3 separate regions of the Homo sapiens genome follow, and regions 1 and 3 are each linked to region 2. Evidence: promoter capture Hi-C in 16 types of primary human blood cells and fetal thymus (Javierre and others, 2016). All regions are on one chromosome and are shown on one strand. The core of a region is centred on a gene start or on the middle of the fragment in contact, and the rest is flanking DNA. Distances in the headings are between cores, read along the strand shown.

The links. Contacts are between HindIII fragments. The CHiCAGO score rates a contact against its expected background, and 5 or more counts as called.
Region 1: a fragment that was not itself captured here is called in contact with the fragment with the promoter of LINC01381 in region 2 in 1 of 17 cell types (M2 macrophages); the score reaches 5.0 in M2 macrophages.
Region 3: a fragment that was not itself captured here is called in contact with the fragment with the promoter of LINC01381 in region 2 in 8 of 17 cell types (M2 macrophages, M1 macrophages, M0 macrophages and 5 more); the score reaches 13.6 in M2 macrophages.

Annotation. Positions count from the first base shown.
Region 1 is chr2:24,960,380-24,964,271 of GRCh38, forward strand. It overlaps DNAJC27 (DnaJ heat shock protein family (Hsp40) member C27), which reads right to left. Exons shown (of 7, transcript NM_016544.3): 3 at 3,026-3,095. Among named protein-coding and RNA genes, the nearest start is that of DNAJC27, 9.6 kb to the right of the region's middle. The HindIII fragment of the contact is 1,724 bases long and covers 686-2,409 here.
Region 2 is chr2:25,202,192-25,206,148 of GRCh38, forward strand. It overlaps LINC01381 (long intergenic non-protein coding RNA 1381), which reads left to right and starts at 2,122. Exons shown (of 2, transcript NR_132378.1): 1 at 2,122-2,358. RefSeq lists a silencer at 2,120-2,459. The HindIII fragment of the contact is 10,460 bases long and covers 1-3,957 here.
Region 3 is chr2:24,978,733-24,982,502 of GRCh38, forward strand. All of the region lies in intron 1 of DNAJC27-AS1 (DNAJC27 antisense RNA 1), which reads left to right. Among named protein-coding and RNA genes, the nearest start is that of DNAJC27-AS1, 8.5 kb to the left of the region's middle. The HindIII fragment of the contact is 8,101 bases long and covers 1-3,770 here.

The DNA of each region.
Region 1 (3,892 bases), core at 298-2,797, 240 kb before region 2:
ACAAAACAATATTGAAAGTAGGCCAATTAATAACAATACAACGGCCTCTAAGTGTTCAAGTAAAAGGAAGAGTCATGTATCTCTCATTTTAAATCAAAACCTTTAAATGATTAAGCTTAGTGAGGAAGGCATTTCAAAAACAGATAGGCCAAAAGCTGGGCCTTTTGTACCAAACAGCTAGCCAAGTTATGAATGCAAAGGAAAACTTCTTGAATGAAATTAAAAATGCTAATCTAGTGAACACATGAATGCTAAGAAAGTGAGACAGCATATTGCTGATATGGAGAAAGCGTTAGTGGTCTGGATAGAAGTCCAAACCAGCCACAACCTTCTCTTAAGCCAAAACCTAATGCACAGCAAGTCTCTAACTCTCTTCATTTCCATGAAGGCTGAGAGAGATGAGGAAGCTGCAGAGGAAAAGTCAGAAGCTAGCAGTTGTTGGTTCATGAGGTTTAGGGAAAGAAGCCATCTTCGTAACATAAAAGGGCAACATGAAGCAGCACATGCTGATGTAGTGCTGCAAGTTATTCAAAATATCTAGCTAAGATCATTGATGAAGGTGGCTAATCAAAGCAACAGATTTTCAATGCAGATGAAACAGGCTTGGAATAGATAGATCTAATGGAAGAAGATGATATCTAGGACTTTCAAGGCTAGAGAGGAAAAGTCGATGCCTGGCTTCAAAAGCTTCAAAGGACAGGCTGACTCTCTTGTTACGGGCTGACAGAGCTGTTACGGGCTATATGAGCTGATGCTCATTTGCCATAATGAAAATCCTAGGGCCCTTAAGAATTATGCTAAATCTACTCTGCCTGTGCTCTATAAATGGAACAGCAAGGTCTGGATGACAGCAGATCTGTTTAAGCATAGTTTACTGAATATTTTAAGCCCACTACTGAGACCTACTACTCAGAAAAAAGGATTCCTTTCAAAATATTACTGCTCATTCACAATGCACCTAATTACCCAAGAGTTCTGATGGAGAAATACGAAGAGATTAAAGCTGTTTTTATTATGCCTGCTAACACAACATCCATTCTGCAACCCATGGATCAAGGAATAATTTTGACTTTGAAGTCTTACTGTTTAAAAAATACATTTTGCAAGGCTACAGCTGCCATAGTGATTACTCTAGGCAAAGCAAATTGAAAACCTTGTAGAAAGCATTCGCCATTCTAGATGCCATTAAGAACATTCGTGATTCAGGGGAGAGGTCAAAGTATCAACCTTAACAAGAGTTTGGAAGTTGATTCCAACCCTTACAGATAACTCTGTGGGAGTTCAAGACATCAGTGGAGGAAGTAACTGCAGATGTGGTGGAAATAGGAAGAGAACTAGAATTAGAAGTAGGGCCTGAAGATGTGACTGAATTACTGCAGTCTCACGATAAAAAATAAATAAGGAGTTGCTTCATATCAATGAGCAAAGAAAGTGGTTTCTTGAGATGGAATCTACTCCTAGTGAAGATGCTATGAACATTCTTGAAATGACAAGCAAGAATTTAGAGTATTACATAAACTTAGTTGATAAGGCAGCAGCAGAGTTTAACTGAATTGACTCCAATTTTGAATGAAGTTCTAATGTGGGTGAAAATGCTGTCAAATAGCATTGCATGGTACAGAGAAATCTTTCATGAAAGGAAGAGTCAATCAATGTGCCAAACTTTATTGTTGTCTTATTTTAAGAAACTGCCACATCAACCACCACCCTCATCAGTCAGCAGCCATCATCACCGAGGCAGCCTCTGATCACAATGGAATCAAACTAGAAATCAGTAACAGAAGGATTAACAGGAAAATCTCCTAACACTTGGAAACTAAACAACATACTTTTTTTCTTTTGTTTTTTTTTGTGTTTTTTGTTTGTTTGTTTGTTTTTGAATAACACACTCTCTTTTTTGAGATGGAGTTTCACTCTTTCACCCAGGCTGGAGTGAAGTGGCACGATTTTGGATCCCTGCAACCTCCGCCTGTTCAAGCGATTCTCCTACCTCAGCCTCCCAGGAAGCTGGGATTACAGGGATGTGCCACCACACCCGGCTGATTTTTGTGTTTTTAGTAGAGACAGGGTTTCCCCATGTTGGCCAGGCTGGTCTCGAATTCCTGACCTCAGGTGATCCACCCTTCTCGGCCTCCCAAAGTGCTGGGATTACAGACGTGAGCTACTGCTCCCGGCCTGAATAACACACTTCTAAATAACTCATACATCAAACAGAAAGTCTCAAGGGAAATTAAAGAAATACATTGAACTGAATGAAAATGAAAATACAACATCTCAGAATTTGTGGGACACACAGTTGTGCTGAGAGGGAAATATGTAGCATTAAATGAATTTATTAAAAAAGGAAAAAGTCTCAAATCAATAATCTAAGATCCCACCTCAAGAATCTAAAACAAAAAGAGCAAAATAAGCTTAAAGCAAGCAGAGAGAAGGAAATGATAAAGATTAAGGCAGAAGTGAAACGGCCAAACCAGAAAAGAGCAAAAAACCTCCTTAAGAAAAATGAAAAAGCCCAAGGAAGGAAAAACAAAAGAGAATGGTCATGAGATTCATTTGGTGATTACTTAGAGCTGGTAAGCAGATGAAAATAAATCAAGTAGTTGCTTTAGCTTCTTCTCTGGAAAGAATGCAGATGACTAGGCATGAATAGGAACGATCACCCCAGTACCCTGCTGTGAAAGAAGTCGCATCACTGAGTTCTTAAGCCCAAGCATAAATGTAATTATTTTTTTTTTCACATTTTAGGCTAAAGTATGAGGTAAAAAGCAAAAGTCCTCTGAAAGTCAAAATGTCTTATTGAAATGTTTGAAATATTGGCAATGAAATTTCCTACCACTATTTAACAGGATAACCTAAAAGATCAACAGTTGTCTATTAACTCAAGGCTCTGAAGGCAAGCCACGATCAAGCTAAAATTATGCAATTTTACACATGATATCAATATTGGTTGTTTCATATAATTCTGGATCTCTCCCCAAACCACCAACAATACTGGATATAGGTTTTGTCAAAAAGGCTTTCTTACCTCATAGAAGAAGGGATGTCCAGCCATATCAAAGATGTTAACTTTGATTTCTCTGTCTCTGACGTGTACCCTGAAATGTTCAAATGGAAACAATCCGAAAGAAAGTCATGGTTTCTCCATTTACCTTAATATCATTTATAAATTTCAAAAGGATATGTGTATGCAATTTAAGAAGCTTTCTTAGTGCCTCTTCCTCATTCCAGATCATCTTTACAATAGCAGTCAGCAACCTGACAGATGATCCTGCCTTCTTATCCCAAGAACACTGAACCCACATGGAGTAGGCATTCTCAATTACTTCACTTTCACCTTCACTTCTAGAAACTTTGGTCCACAGCTCCCAACCAACAAAGGGTAGCTATTACTATGGTATTAAGAAAAATTGATTTGGGATAAGTAGGAGCAAGATGAAGGAAAATGAAAAGTTTTATTTCACTTAGTAAGAGACATCTTAATTACCACTGGTTATATTTGGTTATCACACAGCAGAATAACAACGATGTATATTAATGACGTCTGTTTAATTTTCTTGTGATCTTTATTTGAGCAAGAGCAATAGTGAATTTGTTTTCAGATATTTGGAAATAAAGAATAAAACCAAAGGGGAAACAATAACCATTCATATTAGAATTAACTACTGTTAACATCATAGCATATTTGTTCCTAGTCTTTTTTTTCATGAAAAATCACCATTGGAAAATGATAAAGGAACATTAGAAATAATTCAAACACTAGGCCGGACACGGTGGCTCACGCCTGTAATCCCAGCACTGTGGGAGGCCGAGATGGGCGGATCATGAGGTCAGGAGATCGAGACCATCCTGGCTAACATAGTGAAACCCCGTCCCTACTAAAAAAATAAAAAAA
Region 2 (3,957 bases), core at 872-3,371:
GCTCCCCTAGCCCACCCCACGGCCCTTCCCACTGGGGACCCCCTTTTTAAGATTCTGCCTCCCTCTAGCCCTCACCACCTGCAGGTCCCAAGCCCAATGAGCAGGAGCCACAAATCTGTCCCAGAATCACCAGGAAAATCGGTGTGGCTTCTCAGAGGAGGTAGCATCTGAGTTGGGCCTTGAAACATGGAGAGGAATGAGCCTCTGCCAGATAAAAGAGGAAAGAGGATGTGGCTTTGCCCGGGTATTCCAGACCCAGCAAGGGTGGGACTGAAGGCTTGATGTGGCTGCGTTAGAGGCGGCCAGACTAAATGCTCTATCTAGGGCGTTACAGCCGGAAGAGTGGCCGCATACCTCGCTGGCCCCCGTGTTCCTTCCTGAGCTGCTGCTCACACAGGTGTGTGGTGGTCAAGTACACGTGGTCTGCTTCTCCACCAGACCCGGAATTCCTCAAAGAAGGGCTATGGCCTTCAACTCTTCAACATATATGTTTGTATATGTATATATATGCAATTGTGGTGGTCACACAACTGTAAACATCAGTCAAAATGCACTGAGTTCAATACTTAAAATTGGGGAATGTCACTGTTTGTGAATTATGCCTCAGTAAAAAGCATGCTTTAGAGTCTCTGGGTGTCCAGGTTCACCAGGCACTTTCACATAGATTATCTCCAGCAGCCCAAACAACAGCCCCATTTCACAGATGGAGAAACTGAGGCCAGTGACTTGCCCACATCCCATAGTGGCAGACCTGGGCCCCTCCTTCAGAGCTTGTTGCTCACAGGATATGGGCCTGAGGGATTTTTTTTTTTTTTTTTTTTTTTTTGAGACAGAGTCTCGCTCTGTTGCCCAGGCTGGAGTGCAGTGGCACGATCTTGGTTCACTGCAACCTCCACCTCCCAGGTTCAAGCTATTCTTGTGCCTCAGCCTCTCCAAGTAGGTGGGATTACAGGTGTGTGCCACCATGCCTGGCTAATTTTTTGTATTAGCCAGGGTTTTGCCATGTTGGGCAGGCTGGTCTTGAACTCCTGGCCTCAAGTGAGGCCTCTCAAAGTGCTGGAAGTACAGGCGTGAGCCACTGTGCCCGGCCCGTGAGGGACTTTTGAGAGGACAGGAGCCAGCCATGGCTGGAATAATCCAATGTACAGAGTCTACCTGGTGCGGCTGTTGCTGTCTTGCCCTCGGGGAGTTCAGCCCCTGTAAGAGAGGTTCAGTGGTTCGGTTCTGCTCAGGGGGTTCCTCAGGCCAGTCTGGGAGACACTGGGTGACACTCACATTCCTGCACCCCCTAGTCCTGGCCCCAGTTCACACAGACCACTCGCTGTCATTGGGTAGGTATTAGGGTTCTGAGTCAGATGTCCTCCAAAGAAGGGGTTCTACCACAAATTGAGTTGCCAGATTTAGCAAATAAAAATACAGGCCAGGCCAGGAGTGGTGGCTCATGCCTGGAATCCCAGCACTTTGGGAGACCAAGGCAGGAGAATCACTTGAGCCCAGGAGTTCGAGACCAGCTTGGGCAAAATAGCGAGACGCCCCCCAGCTCTACAAAAAATACAAACATTAGCTGAGTGTAGTGGTGTACATCTATTCTGGAGGCTGAGGCAGGAAGATCTCTTGAGTCCAGGAGTTGGAGGCTGCAGTGAACTATGATTGTGCCACTGCACCCCAGCCTGGGCAACAAAGCAAGTCCTTGTCGCAAAAAACAAACAAACAAACAAACAAAAAACCAGGACAAAACGTTGGAGACATTCTGATACTAAATAGGACATCCTAAACAGGATAGATGTATACTAAAAATGTATCTGTTGCTTATCTGAAATTTGAATTTAACTGGACCTCCTACATTTAACCTGGCAATCCAAACTGAAAAAAAAAACCACCTAAAATTAAAATTAAATTAACAAAATTTAAATTTAATGAAATTAATAAAATTTAAAACAAAACTAAAATGAAAGAAAAAGTAAAATAAAAAAAATTTTTTAAATGAGTTAAATTAAATGAAACGAGAATAAAATCCCAAAAGAGGTGAACACTGCACAAGCGCGCACGCCTGCGCCGAGCGCCCGTGGCCCAGCAAGATGGCGAGGCCGCGCCTTCCCCACCCAGGCGTGGGGTCCTCGGGCCTCTGCGCGGCGCTCGCCCGGGACTGGGACGCAGAGCCGCGGACGGCTTTGGGGACGCCAGGGCTCCGGACTTCCCCGGCGGCGCCTCACGGGCGGCAATCGCCCGCGAGCCTTGGGGCGCGGCACCCAGGGCCTCCCCACCGGGCTCCGAGGGACGCAGCGGCCTCGCCACCGCATTAGGCCGAATCCGGTGCCTTCTAGAAATGGCCTCCTGCAGCTCCAGAGCGCCTGCAGGGTGAGCAGAGGCTGCTCTGTTTTCAAGAAAGCCGCGCGCCCTCATGGCCCCGCAGGGCCCCTCACGGCCTCTGCTGCTCTGGGGAGAAGGTAGCCGGCGCCACCGAGTCCCAGGAGGTCCCCGGACGCCCGCCCGGGCCCCGTGGGAGGGTGACGCCCGTGACAGCTCCTCTAGCTGCACTCTGCTGCCTCTGTCATTCTGCCACTCAAATCTCTGGCCTGACACTGTGCAGGCGGAAACAAGTGGGGGGCCCCTAGGTTTTCCCCCACAAATCTGAATGCTGAAAGGCGCGCCAGAGAACTTTTGCTCACTTGGGGAAAAGCCGATCTGTACCTTAGAAAGGGCAATAATAAGGATATAATATTAAATTAATAATACCTAATACAGTCATAAAGGTCCAGAACCTTATGCCCAGGCACCCCACTCCCTGGGAATGTATCCTAATGAAATAATTCAAAGGAATAACCGTGCCCTAGGCATAATCATGTTCATTATGGCATTATTAGTGTGAGCTAAAAATTGAAAACAACCTCGCCACCTAGCAAGGGAGAATGGTTAAGGGAACGGTTTTACACCCACTAGATGGAATGCCGTGTAGCCAGTAAGTGATTATTGCAAGGTCTGTAGAAACACGGGGAAATGTTTATAATGTAATCTTAATGAAAAATGGTTTAACATGAAATGGTAAATTCTCATGGATCTCAACTCCTTCAGAATTGCTTTTTCTTTTAATCGAAAATGTTATATAGATACTTGCAGATTCACATGCAGTTATAAGAAAATATAGGCCGGGCGCGGTGGCTCACGCCTGTAATCCCAACACTTTGAGAGGCCGAGGCGGGCAGATCATGAGGTCAAGAGATTGAGACCATCCTGGCCAACATGGTGAAACTCCGTCTTTACTAAAAATACAACAATTAGCCGGGCATGTGGCATGTGCCTGTAGTCCCAGCTACTCGAGAGGCTGAGGCAGGAGAATCGCTTGAACCCGGGAGGCAGAAGTTACAGTGAGCCAAGATCGGGCCGCGGCACTCCAGCCTGGTGACAGAGTGAGACTCCGTCTCAAGAAAAAAAAAAAAAAAAAGAAATGATACAGAGATCCCACCTCTACCCAGTTTTCCCCAATGGTAACATCTTGCAGAACTATAGTACAATATCACAACCAGCATATTGACAGGGATGTAACCTGCTGATCTAATGCAGATTTCCCAAATGTTACTTATACTTGTGTGTTTTGTTCTATACAGTGTTATCACAATTGTAAATTACAATTTTACTAGAGCTGGGTTTTTTTTTCTTTTTCTTTTTTTCTTTTGAGACAGAGTTTCACTCTTGTTGCCCAGGCTGGAGTGCAATGGTGCGCTCTCGGCTCACTGCAACCCCCACCTCCCGGGTTCAAGCAATTCTCCTGCCTCAGCCTCCTAAGTAGCTGGGATTATAGGCGTGTGCCACCACACCTGGCTAATTTTGTATTTTTAGTAGAGACAGGGTTTCACCATGTTGGCCAGGCTGGTCTCAAACTCCTGACCTCAGGTGATCTACCCACCTCGGCCTCCCAAAGTATTGGGATTACAGGCGTGAGCCACCACTCCCGGCCTA
Region 3 (3,770 bases), core at 1,040-3,539, 220 kb before region 2:
GGTGCTGTGGCTCATGTCTGTAATCCCAGCACTTTCATAAGTGGAAGTGGGAGGATCTGTTGAGGCCGGGAGATCAAGACCAGCCCTGGCAACATAGTGAGACCTTGTCTCTATAAAAATAAAGACTCAGGCAGGAGAATCACTTGAGCCCAGGAGTTCAAGGTTACAGTGAACTATGATCTCACTGCTGCACTCCAGCCTGGGTGACAGACCAAGACCTTGTCCCTCAAAATCCCACCAACACACACATAGTTGACAGTTTTAAAAAATGTTTCTATGCTCTGGAATAATTTATCTGACAAAATTTATTTTTTATTTTTTTTTCAGAGACGGGGCTTCGCCATCTTTCCCAGGCTGGTCTCAAACTCCTGAGCTCAAGTGACCCTCCTGCCTTGGCCTCCCAGAGTGCTGGGATTACAGGCATGAGCAATGGTGCCTGGCCCAAAATTCATACATTAGCAAAAGTAGGGAGAATAAAGTAATGAACACTCATTTTCCACCTTCAGCAATATCAACGTGGATCAATCTTGTTTCATCTATACCCCAGATTATTTTGGGGCAAACTATAAATATAGTTATACTATAACTATCCATATCTTATTATGTACTTTAGAAGGTGAAGCTCTTAAAATACAGACATAAATGAAATCTAACTGGCATACTGTGGTAAGCCGAATTCTAAGATGGCCTCTAAGATTCCTGGCCCCTGGTACACACATACCTTTTCCCAGTTAGTTAATCAAACATGAATTTGGGTGCTGCTACAAAGGGATTTTGGTAATTAAGTTCCCAGATCAGTTGTTTTTACGCTGAAGATATTATCCTCCATGGGCCTGACCCAATCAGATGAGTCCTTAAGTAGGATAGGGCTTTTCCTGGCAAAAGATATTAAAAATGTGAGAAGCATTCAATAGGAGGAAGGTTCTCCAGGATGGAAGGGGATACTTAGCAAGGACCTAAGAGTGGCCTCTTGGAGCTAAGAGTAACCCCCAGCCAACAGCAAGAAAATGAGCAGCTCAGTCCTACAACCAGAAGTAACTGAATTCTGCCAAAAACCTGAATGAGCCTGGAAGGAGCTCCTGAGCTCTGATGAGAACCCAGCTGTCTGCTACCTTCATTGCAGCCTTGTGAGACTTTTTTTTTCTGAGACAGGGTCTCGCTCTGTTGCCCAGGCTGGAGTGCAGTGGCACGATGTCAGCTCATTGCAGCCTCTGGCTCCCAGGTTCAAGTGATTCTCCTGCCTCAGTCTCCCGAGTAGCTGGGATTACAGGCGCCTGTCACCACACCCGGCTAATTTTGTATTTTTAGTAGAGATGGGGTTTCACCACGTTGGCCAGGATGGTCTCGAACTCCTGATCTCAAGCGATCTGCCCACCTCAGCCTCCCAAAGTGCTGGGATTACAGGCGTGAACCACTGCACCCAGCCTACTTTTTTTTTTTTTTTGAGATAGGCTCTCTCTGTTGCCCAGGCTGGAATGCAGTGGCACAATCATAACTCACTGCAGCCTTGACCTCCTGGGCTCAAGTGATCCTCCTATCTCAGTCTTCCGAGTAGCTGCGACTACAGGTCTGTAGCACCATGCCTGGCTAGTTATTTTTTGTAGAGGCAAGCTCTCACTATGTTGCCCAGGCTAGTCTTAAATTCCTCGCCTCGAATGAGCCTCCCACCACAGCCTCCCAAAATGCTGGGATTACAGGCCTGAGCCACCATCCTGGCCCCTTGTGAGATTTCTGGGCTAGAGAACCCAGCCTCTGTATGCCTTATCATCTGACCTACAGGACTGCAAGATGTTTAATGTCTGTTGTTTGAAACTGTTGAATTTGCAGTAATTTGTTATGCAGCAATAGAAAACTAATATACATACTGAAAAGTTGGTAGTAATTCCTCTCAGTGACCAAGTTTTTGTGGGAAAGTTTTTAACTACAAATTCAATTTTTTAAGGAGTTCTGCTTCCAGTATGGTAGTGTAAACCCTTTCAGATAATTCTCCCACTGATTAAAAAACAATAACAGGGCTGGGCGTGGTAGCTCATGCCTGTAATTCCAGCACTTTGGGAGGCCAAGGCAGGCAGATCACTTGAGGCCAGGAGTTCGAGACCAGCCTGCACAACATGACAAAACCCCATCTGTACTAAAAATACAAAAATCAGCTGGGTTTGATGGTACACACCTGTACTCCTAGCGACTTGGGAGGCTGAGGTGGGAGGATTGGTTGAATCCAAGAGCCAGAGATTGCAATGAGCCGAGATCATGCCATCACACTCCAATCTGGGTAACACAGTGAGACTCTTCCTCAAGAAAGAAAAAAAGAGAGAGAGAAGAAGGAGGGGGAGGGGGGAGAGGGAGGGAGGGAGGGAAGAGAGGAAAGGAAGGAAAAAACTACTGGGAGATTCTGAAGAGTAACAGAAACCAGGCAAATGGTAGAGGGGAGTGGAAATCTTGGAGAAGCACCTGGCATGGGGATGAGTCTCTCCTAAGCAATGTAAGAACCTTAGAACCCTGACTCTGCTGAGCCTTCCGACCTTCCTTATTAGGGGTAGAGGGTCTTAGTTTGGAGTCTGTGAGCATGGATATTGTGCTTCCATGTTCATATCCATGTATTCATCCTACTACAGACTATCCCAAAAAGTGTGTGGGAGTTCGTATTTTCCAAAAATGGCTGTGACAACATTTCCCATTCCATATGACCTTTTTTTATATAGTGGCAAAATACACATAACATAAAATGTATCATTTTAACCATTTAAAAATGTACAGCTCAGTGGCATTAAGCACATTCACATTGTGCAACCATCACTGCCATCTTTCCCAGAACTTTTTCATCTTCCCAAACTGACATTCCATACCACTGAGCACTAACTCTCCATTCTCTCCTCCCCCCAGCCCATGGGACCCATCATTCTACTTTTGTCTCTATTAATTTGAGTACTTCAGGCACCTCATACGAGTAGAATGGCTGGCTTACTTCACTTAGCATAATGTCTTCAAGGTTCCCATATGAAATTCTTACAGTAGGATTGAGACTCCTCTCCATAGGTCTATGTTCCTCTCCTTTGAATCTGGGTGGAATTGTAACTATGGTGTTAGTGACGTTATGCCACCTCCAAAACTAAGTCATAAAAGGCAATGCAATTTCCTTCTGGTTCTCTTGGAATGCTCACTTTTGGAATCTAGCCACCAAACTGTGAAGATTCCAGCTCTTCATGGAGAGGACCATGGAGAGAGAAACGAGCTCCCCACTCACACCCACAACCACAGCTGAGCTCCCATATGACAATCAGCACCAACTTGCCAGCTATGGGATTGAGCCATCTTGAAAGTGCCAAGACAATGAAGCAAAGATGCCAACAAGCAGTGGAATGTAGCAATAAGGAACACATAACAAGTGATATTCAGTAATATGGACAGGTAGAAAATTGTCATTAACCCCGCCAAGAAATTTGAGCTCAGAGCAAGCTGCCAATTTCTTGGGAGATATCCTGGGGTACCTAGCAGATTACTAGTAGTGCTCAAATGCTATCTTCCTTCTGTTCTTTGAATGCCAAGTTCACTTGCAGCTCATGGCCTTTGTATATAGACCTCTGCCTAAAACACCCTTCTCTAGATCTTGAGACTCTCCAGCCATACTGCTCTGGCTCCTCATAGAGAGGAGATTTTGGCACAAACCAGTGTTTCCACCTACGTATCTAATTGCAGTTAATGGCACCCAATTGCCTAATAAAAATGTAGGGAAAGGAAGGGAAAGGTAAGGAAGGGTAGCAGAGGGAAGG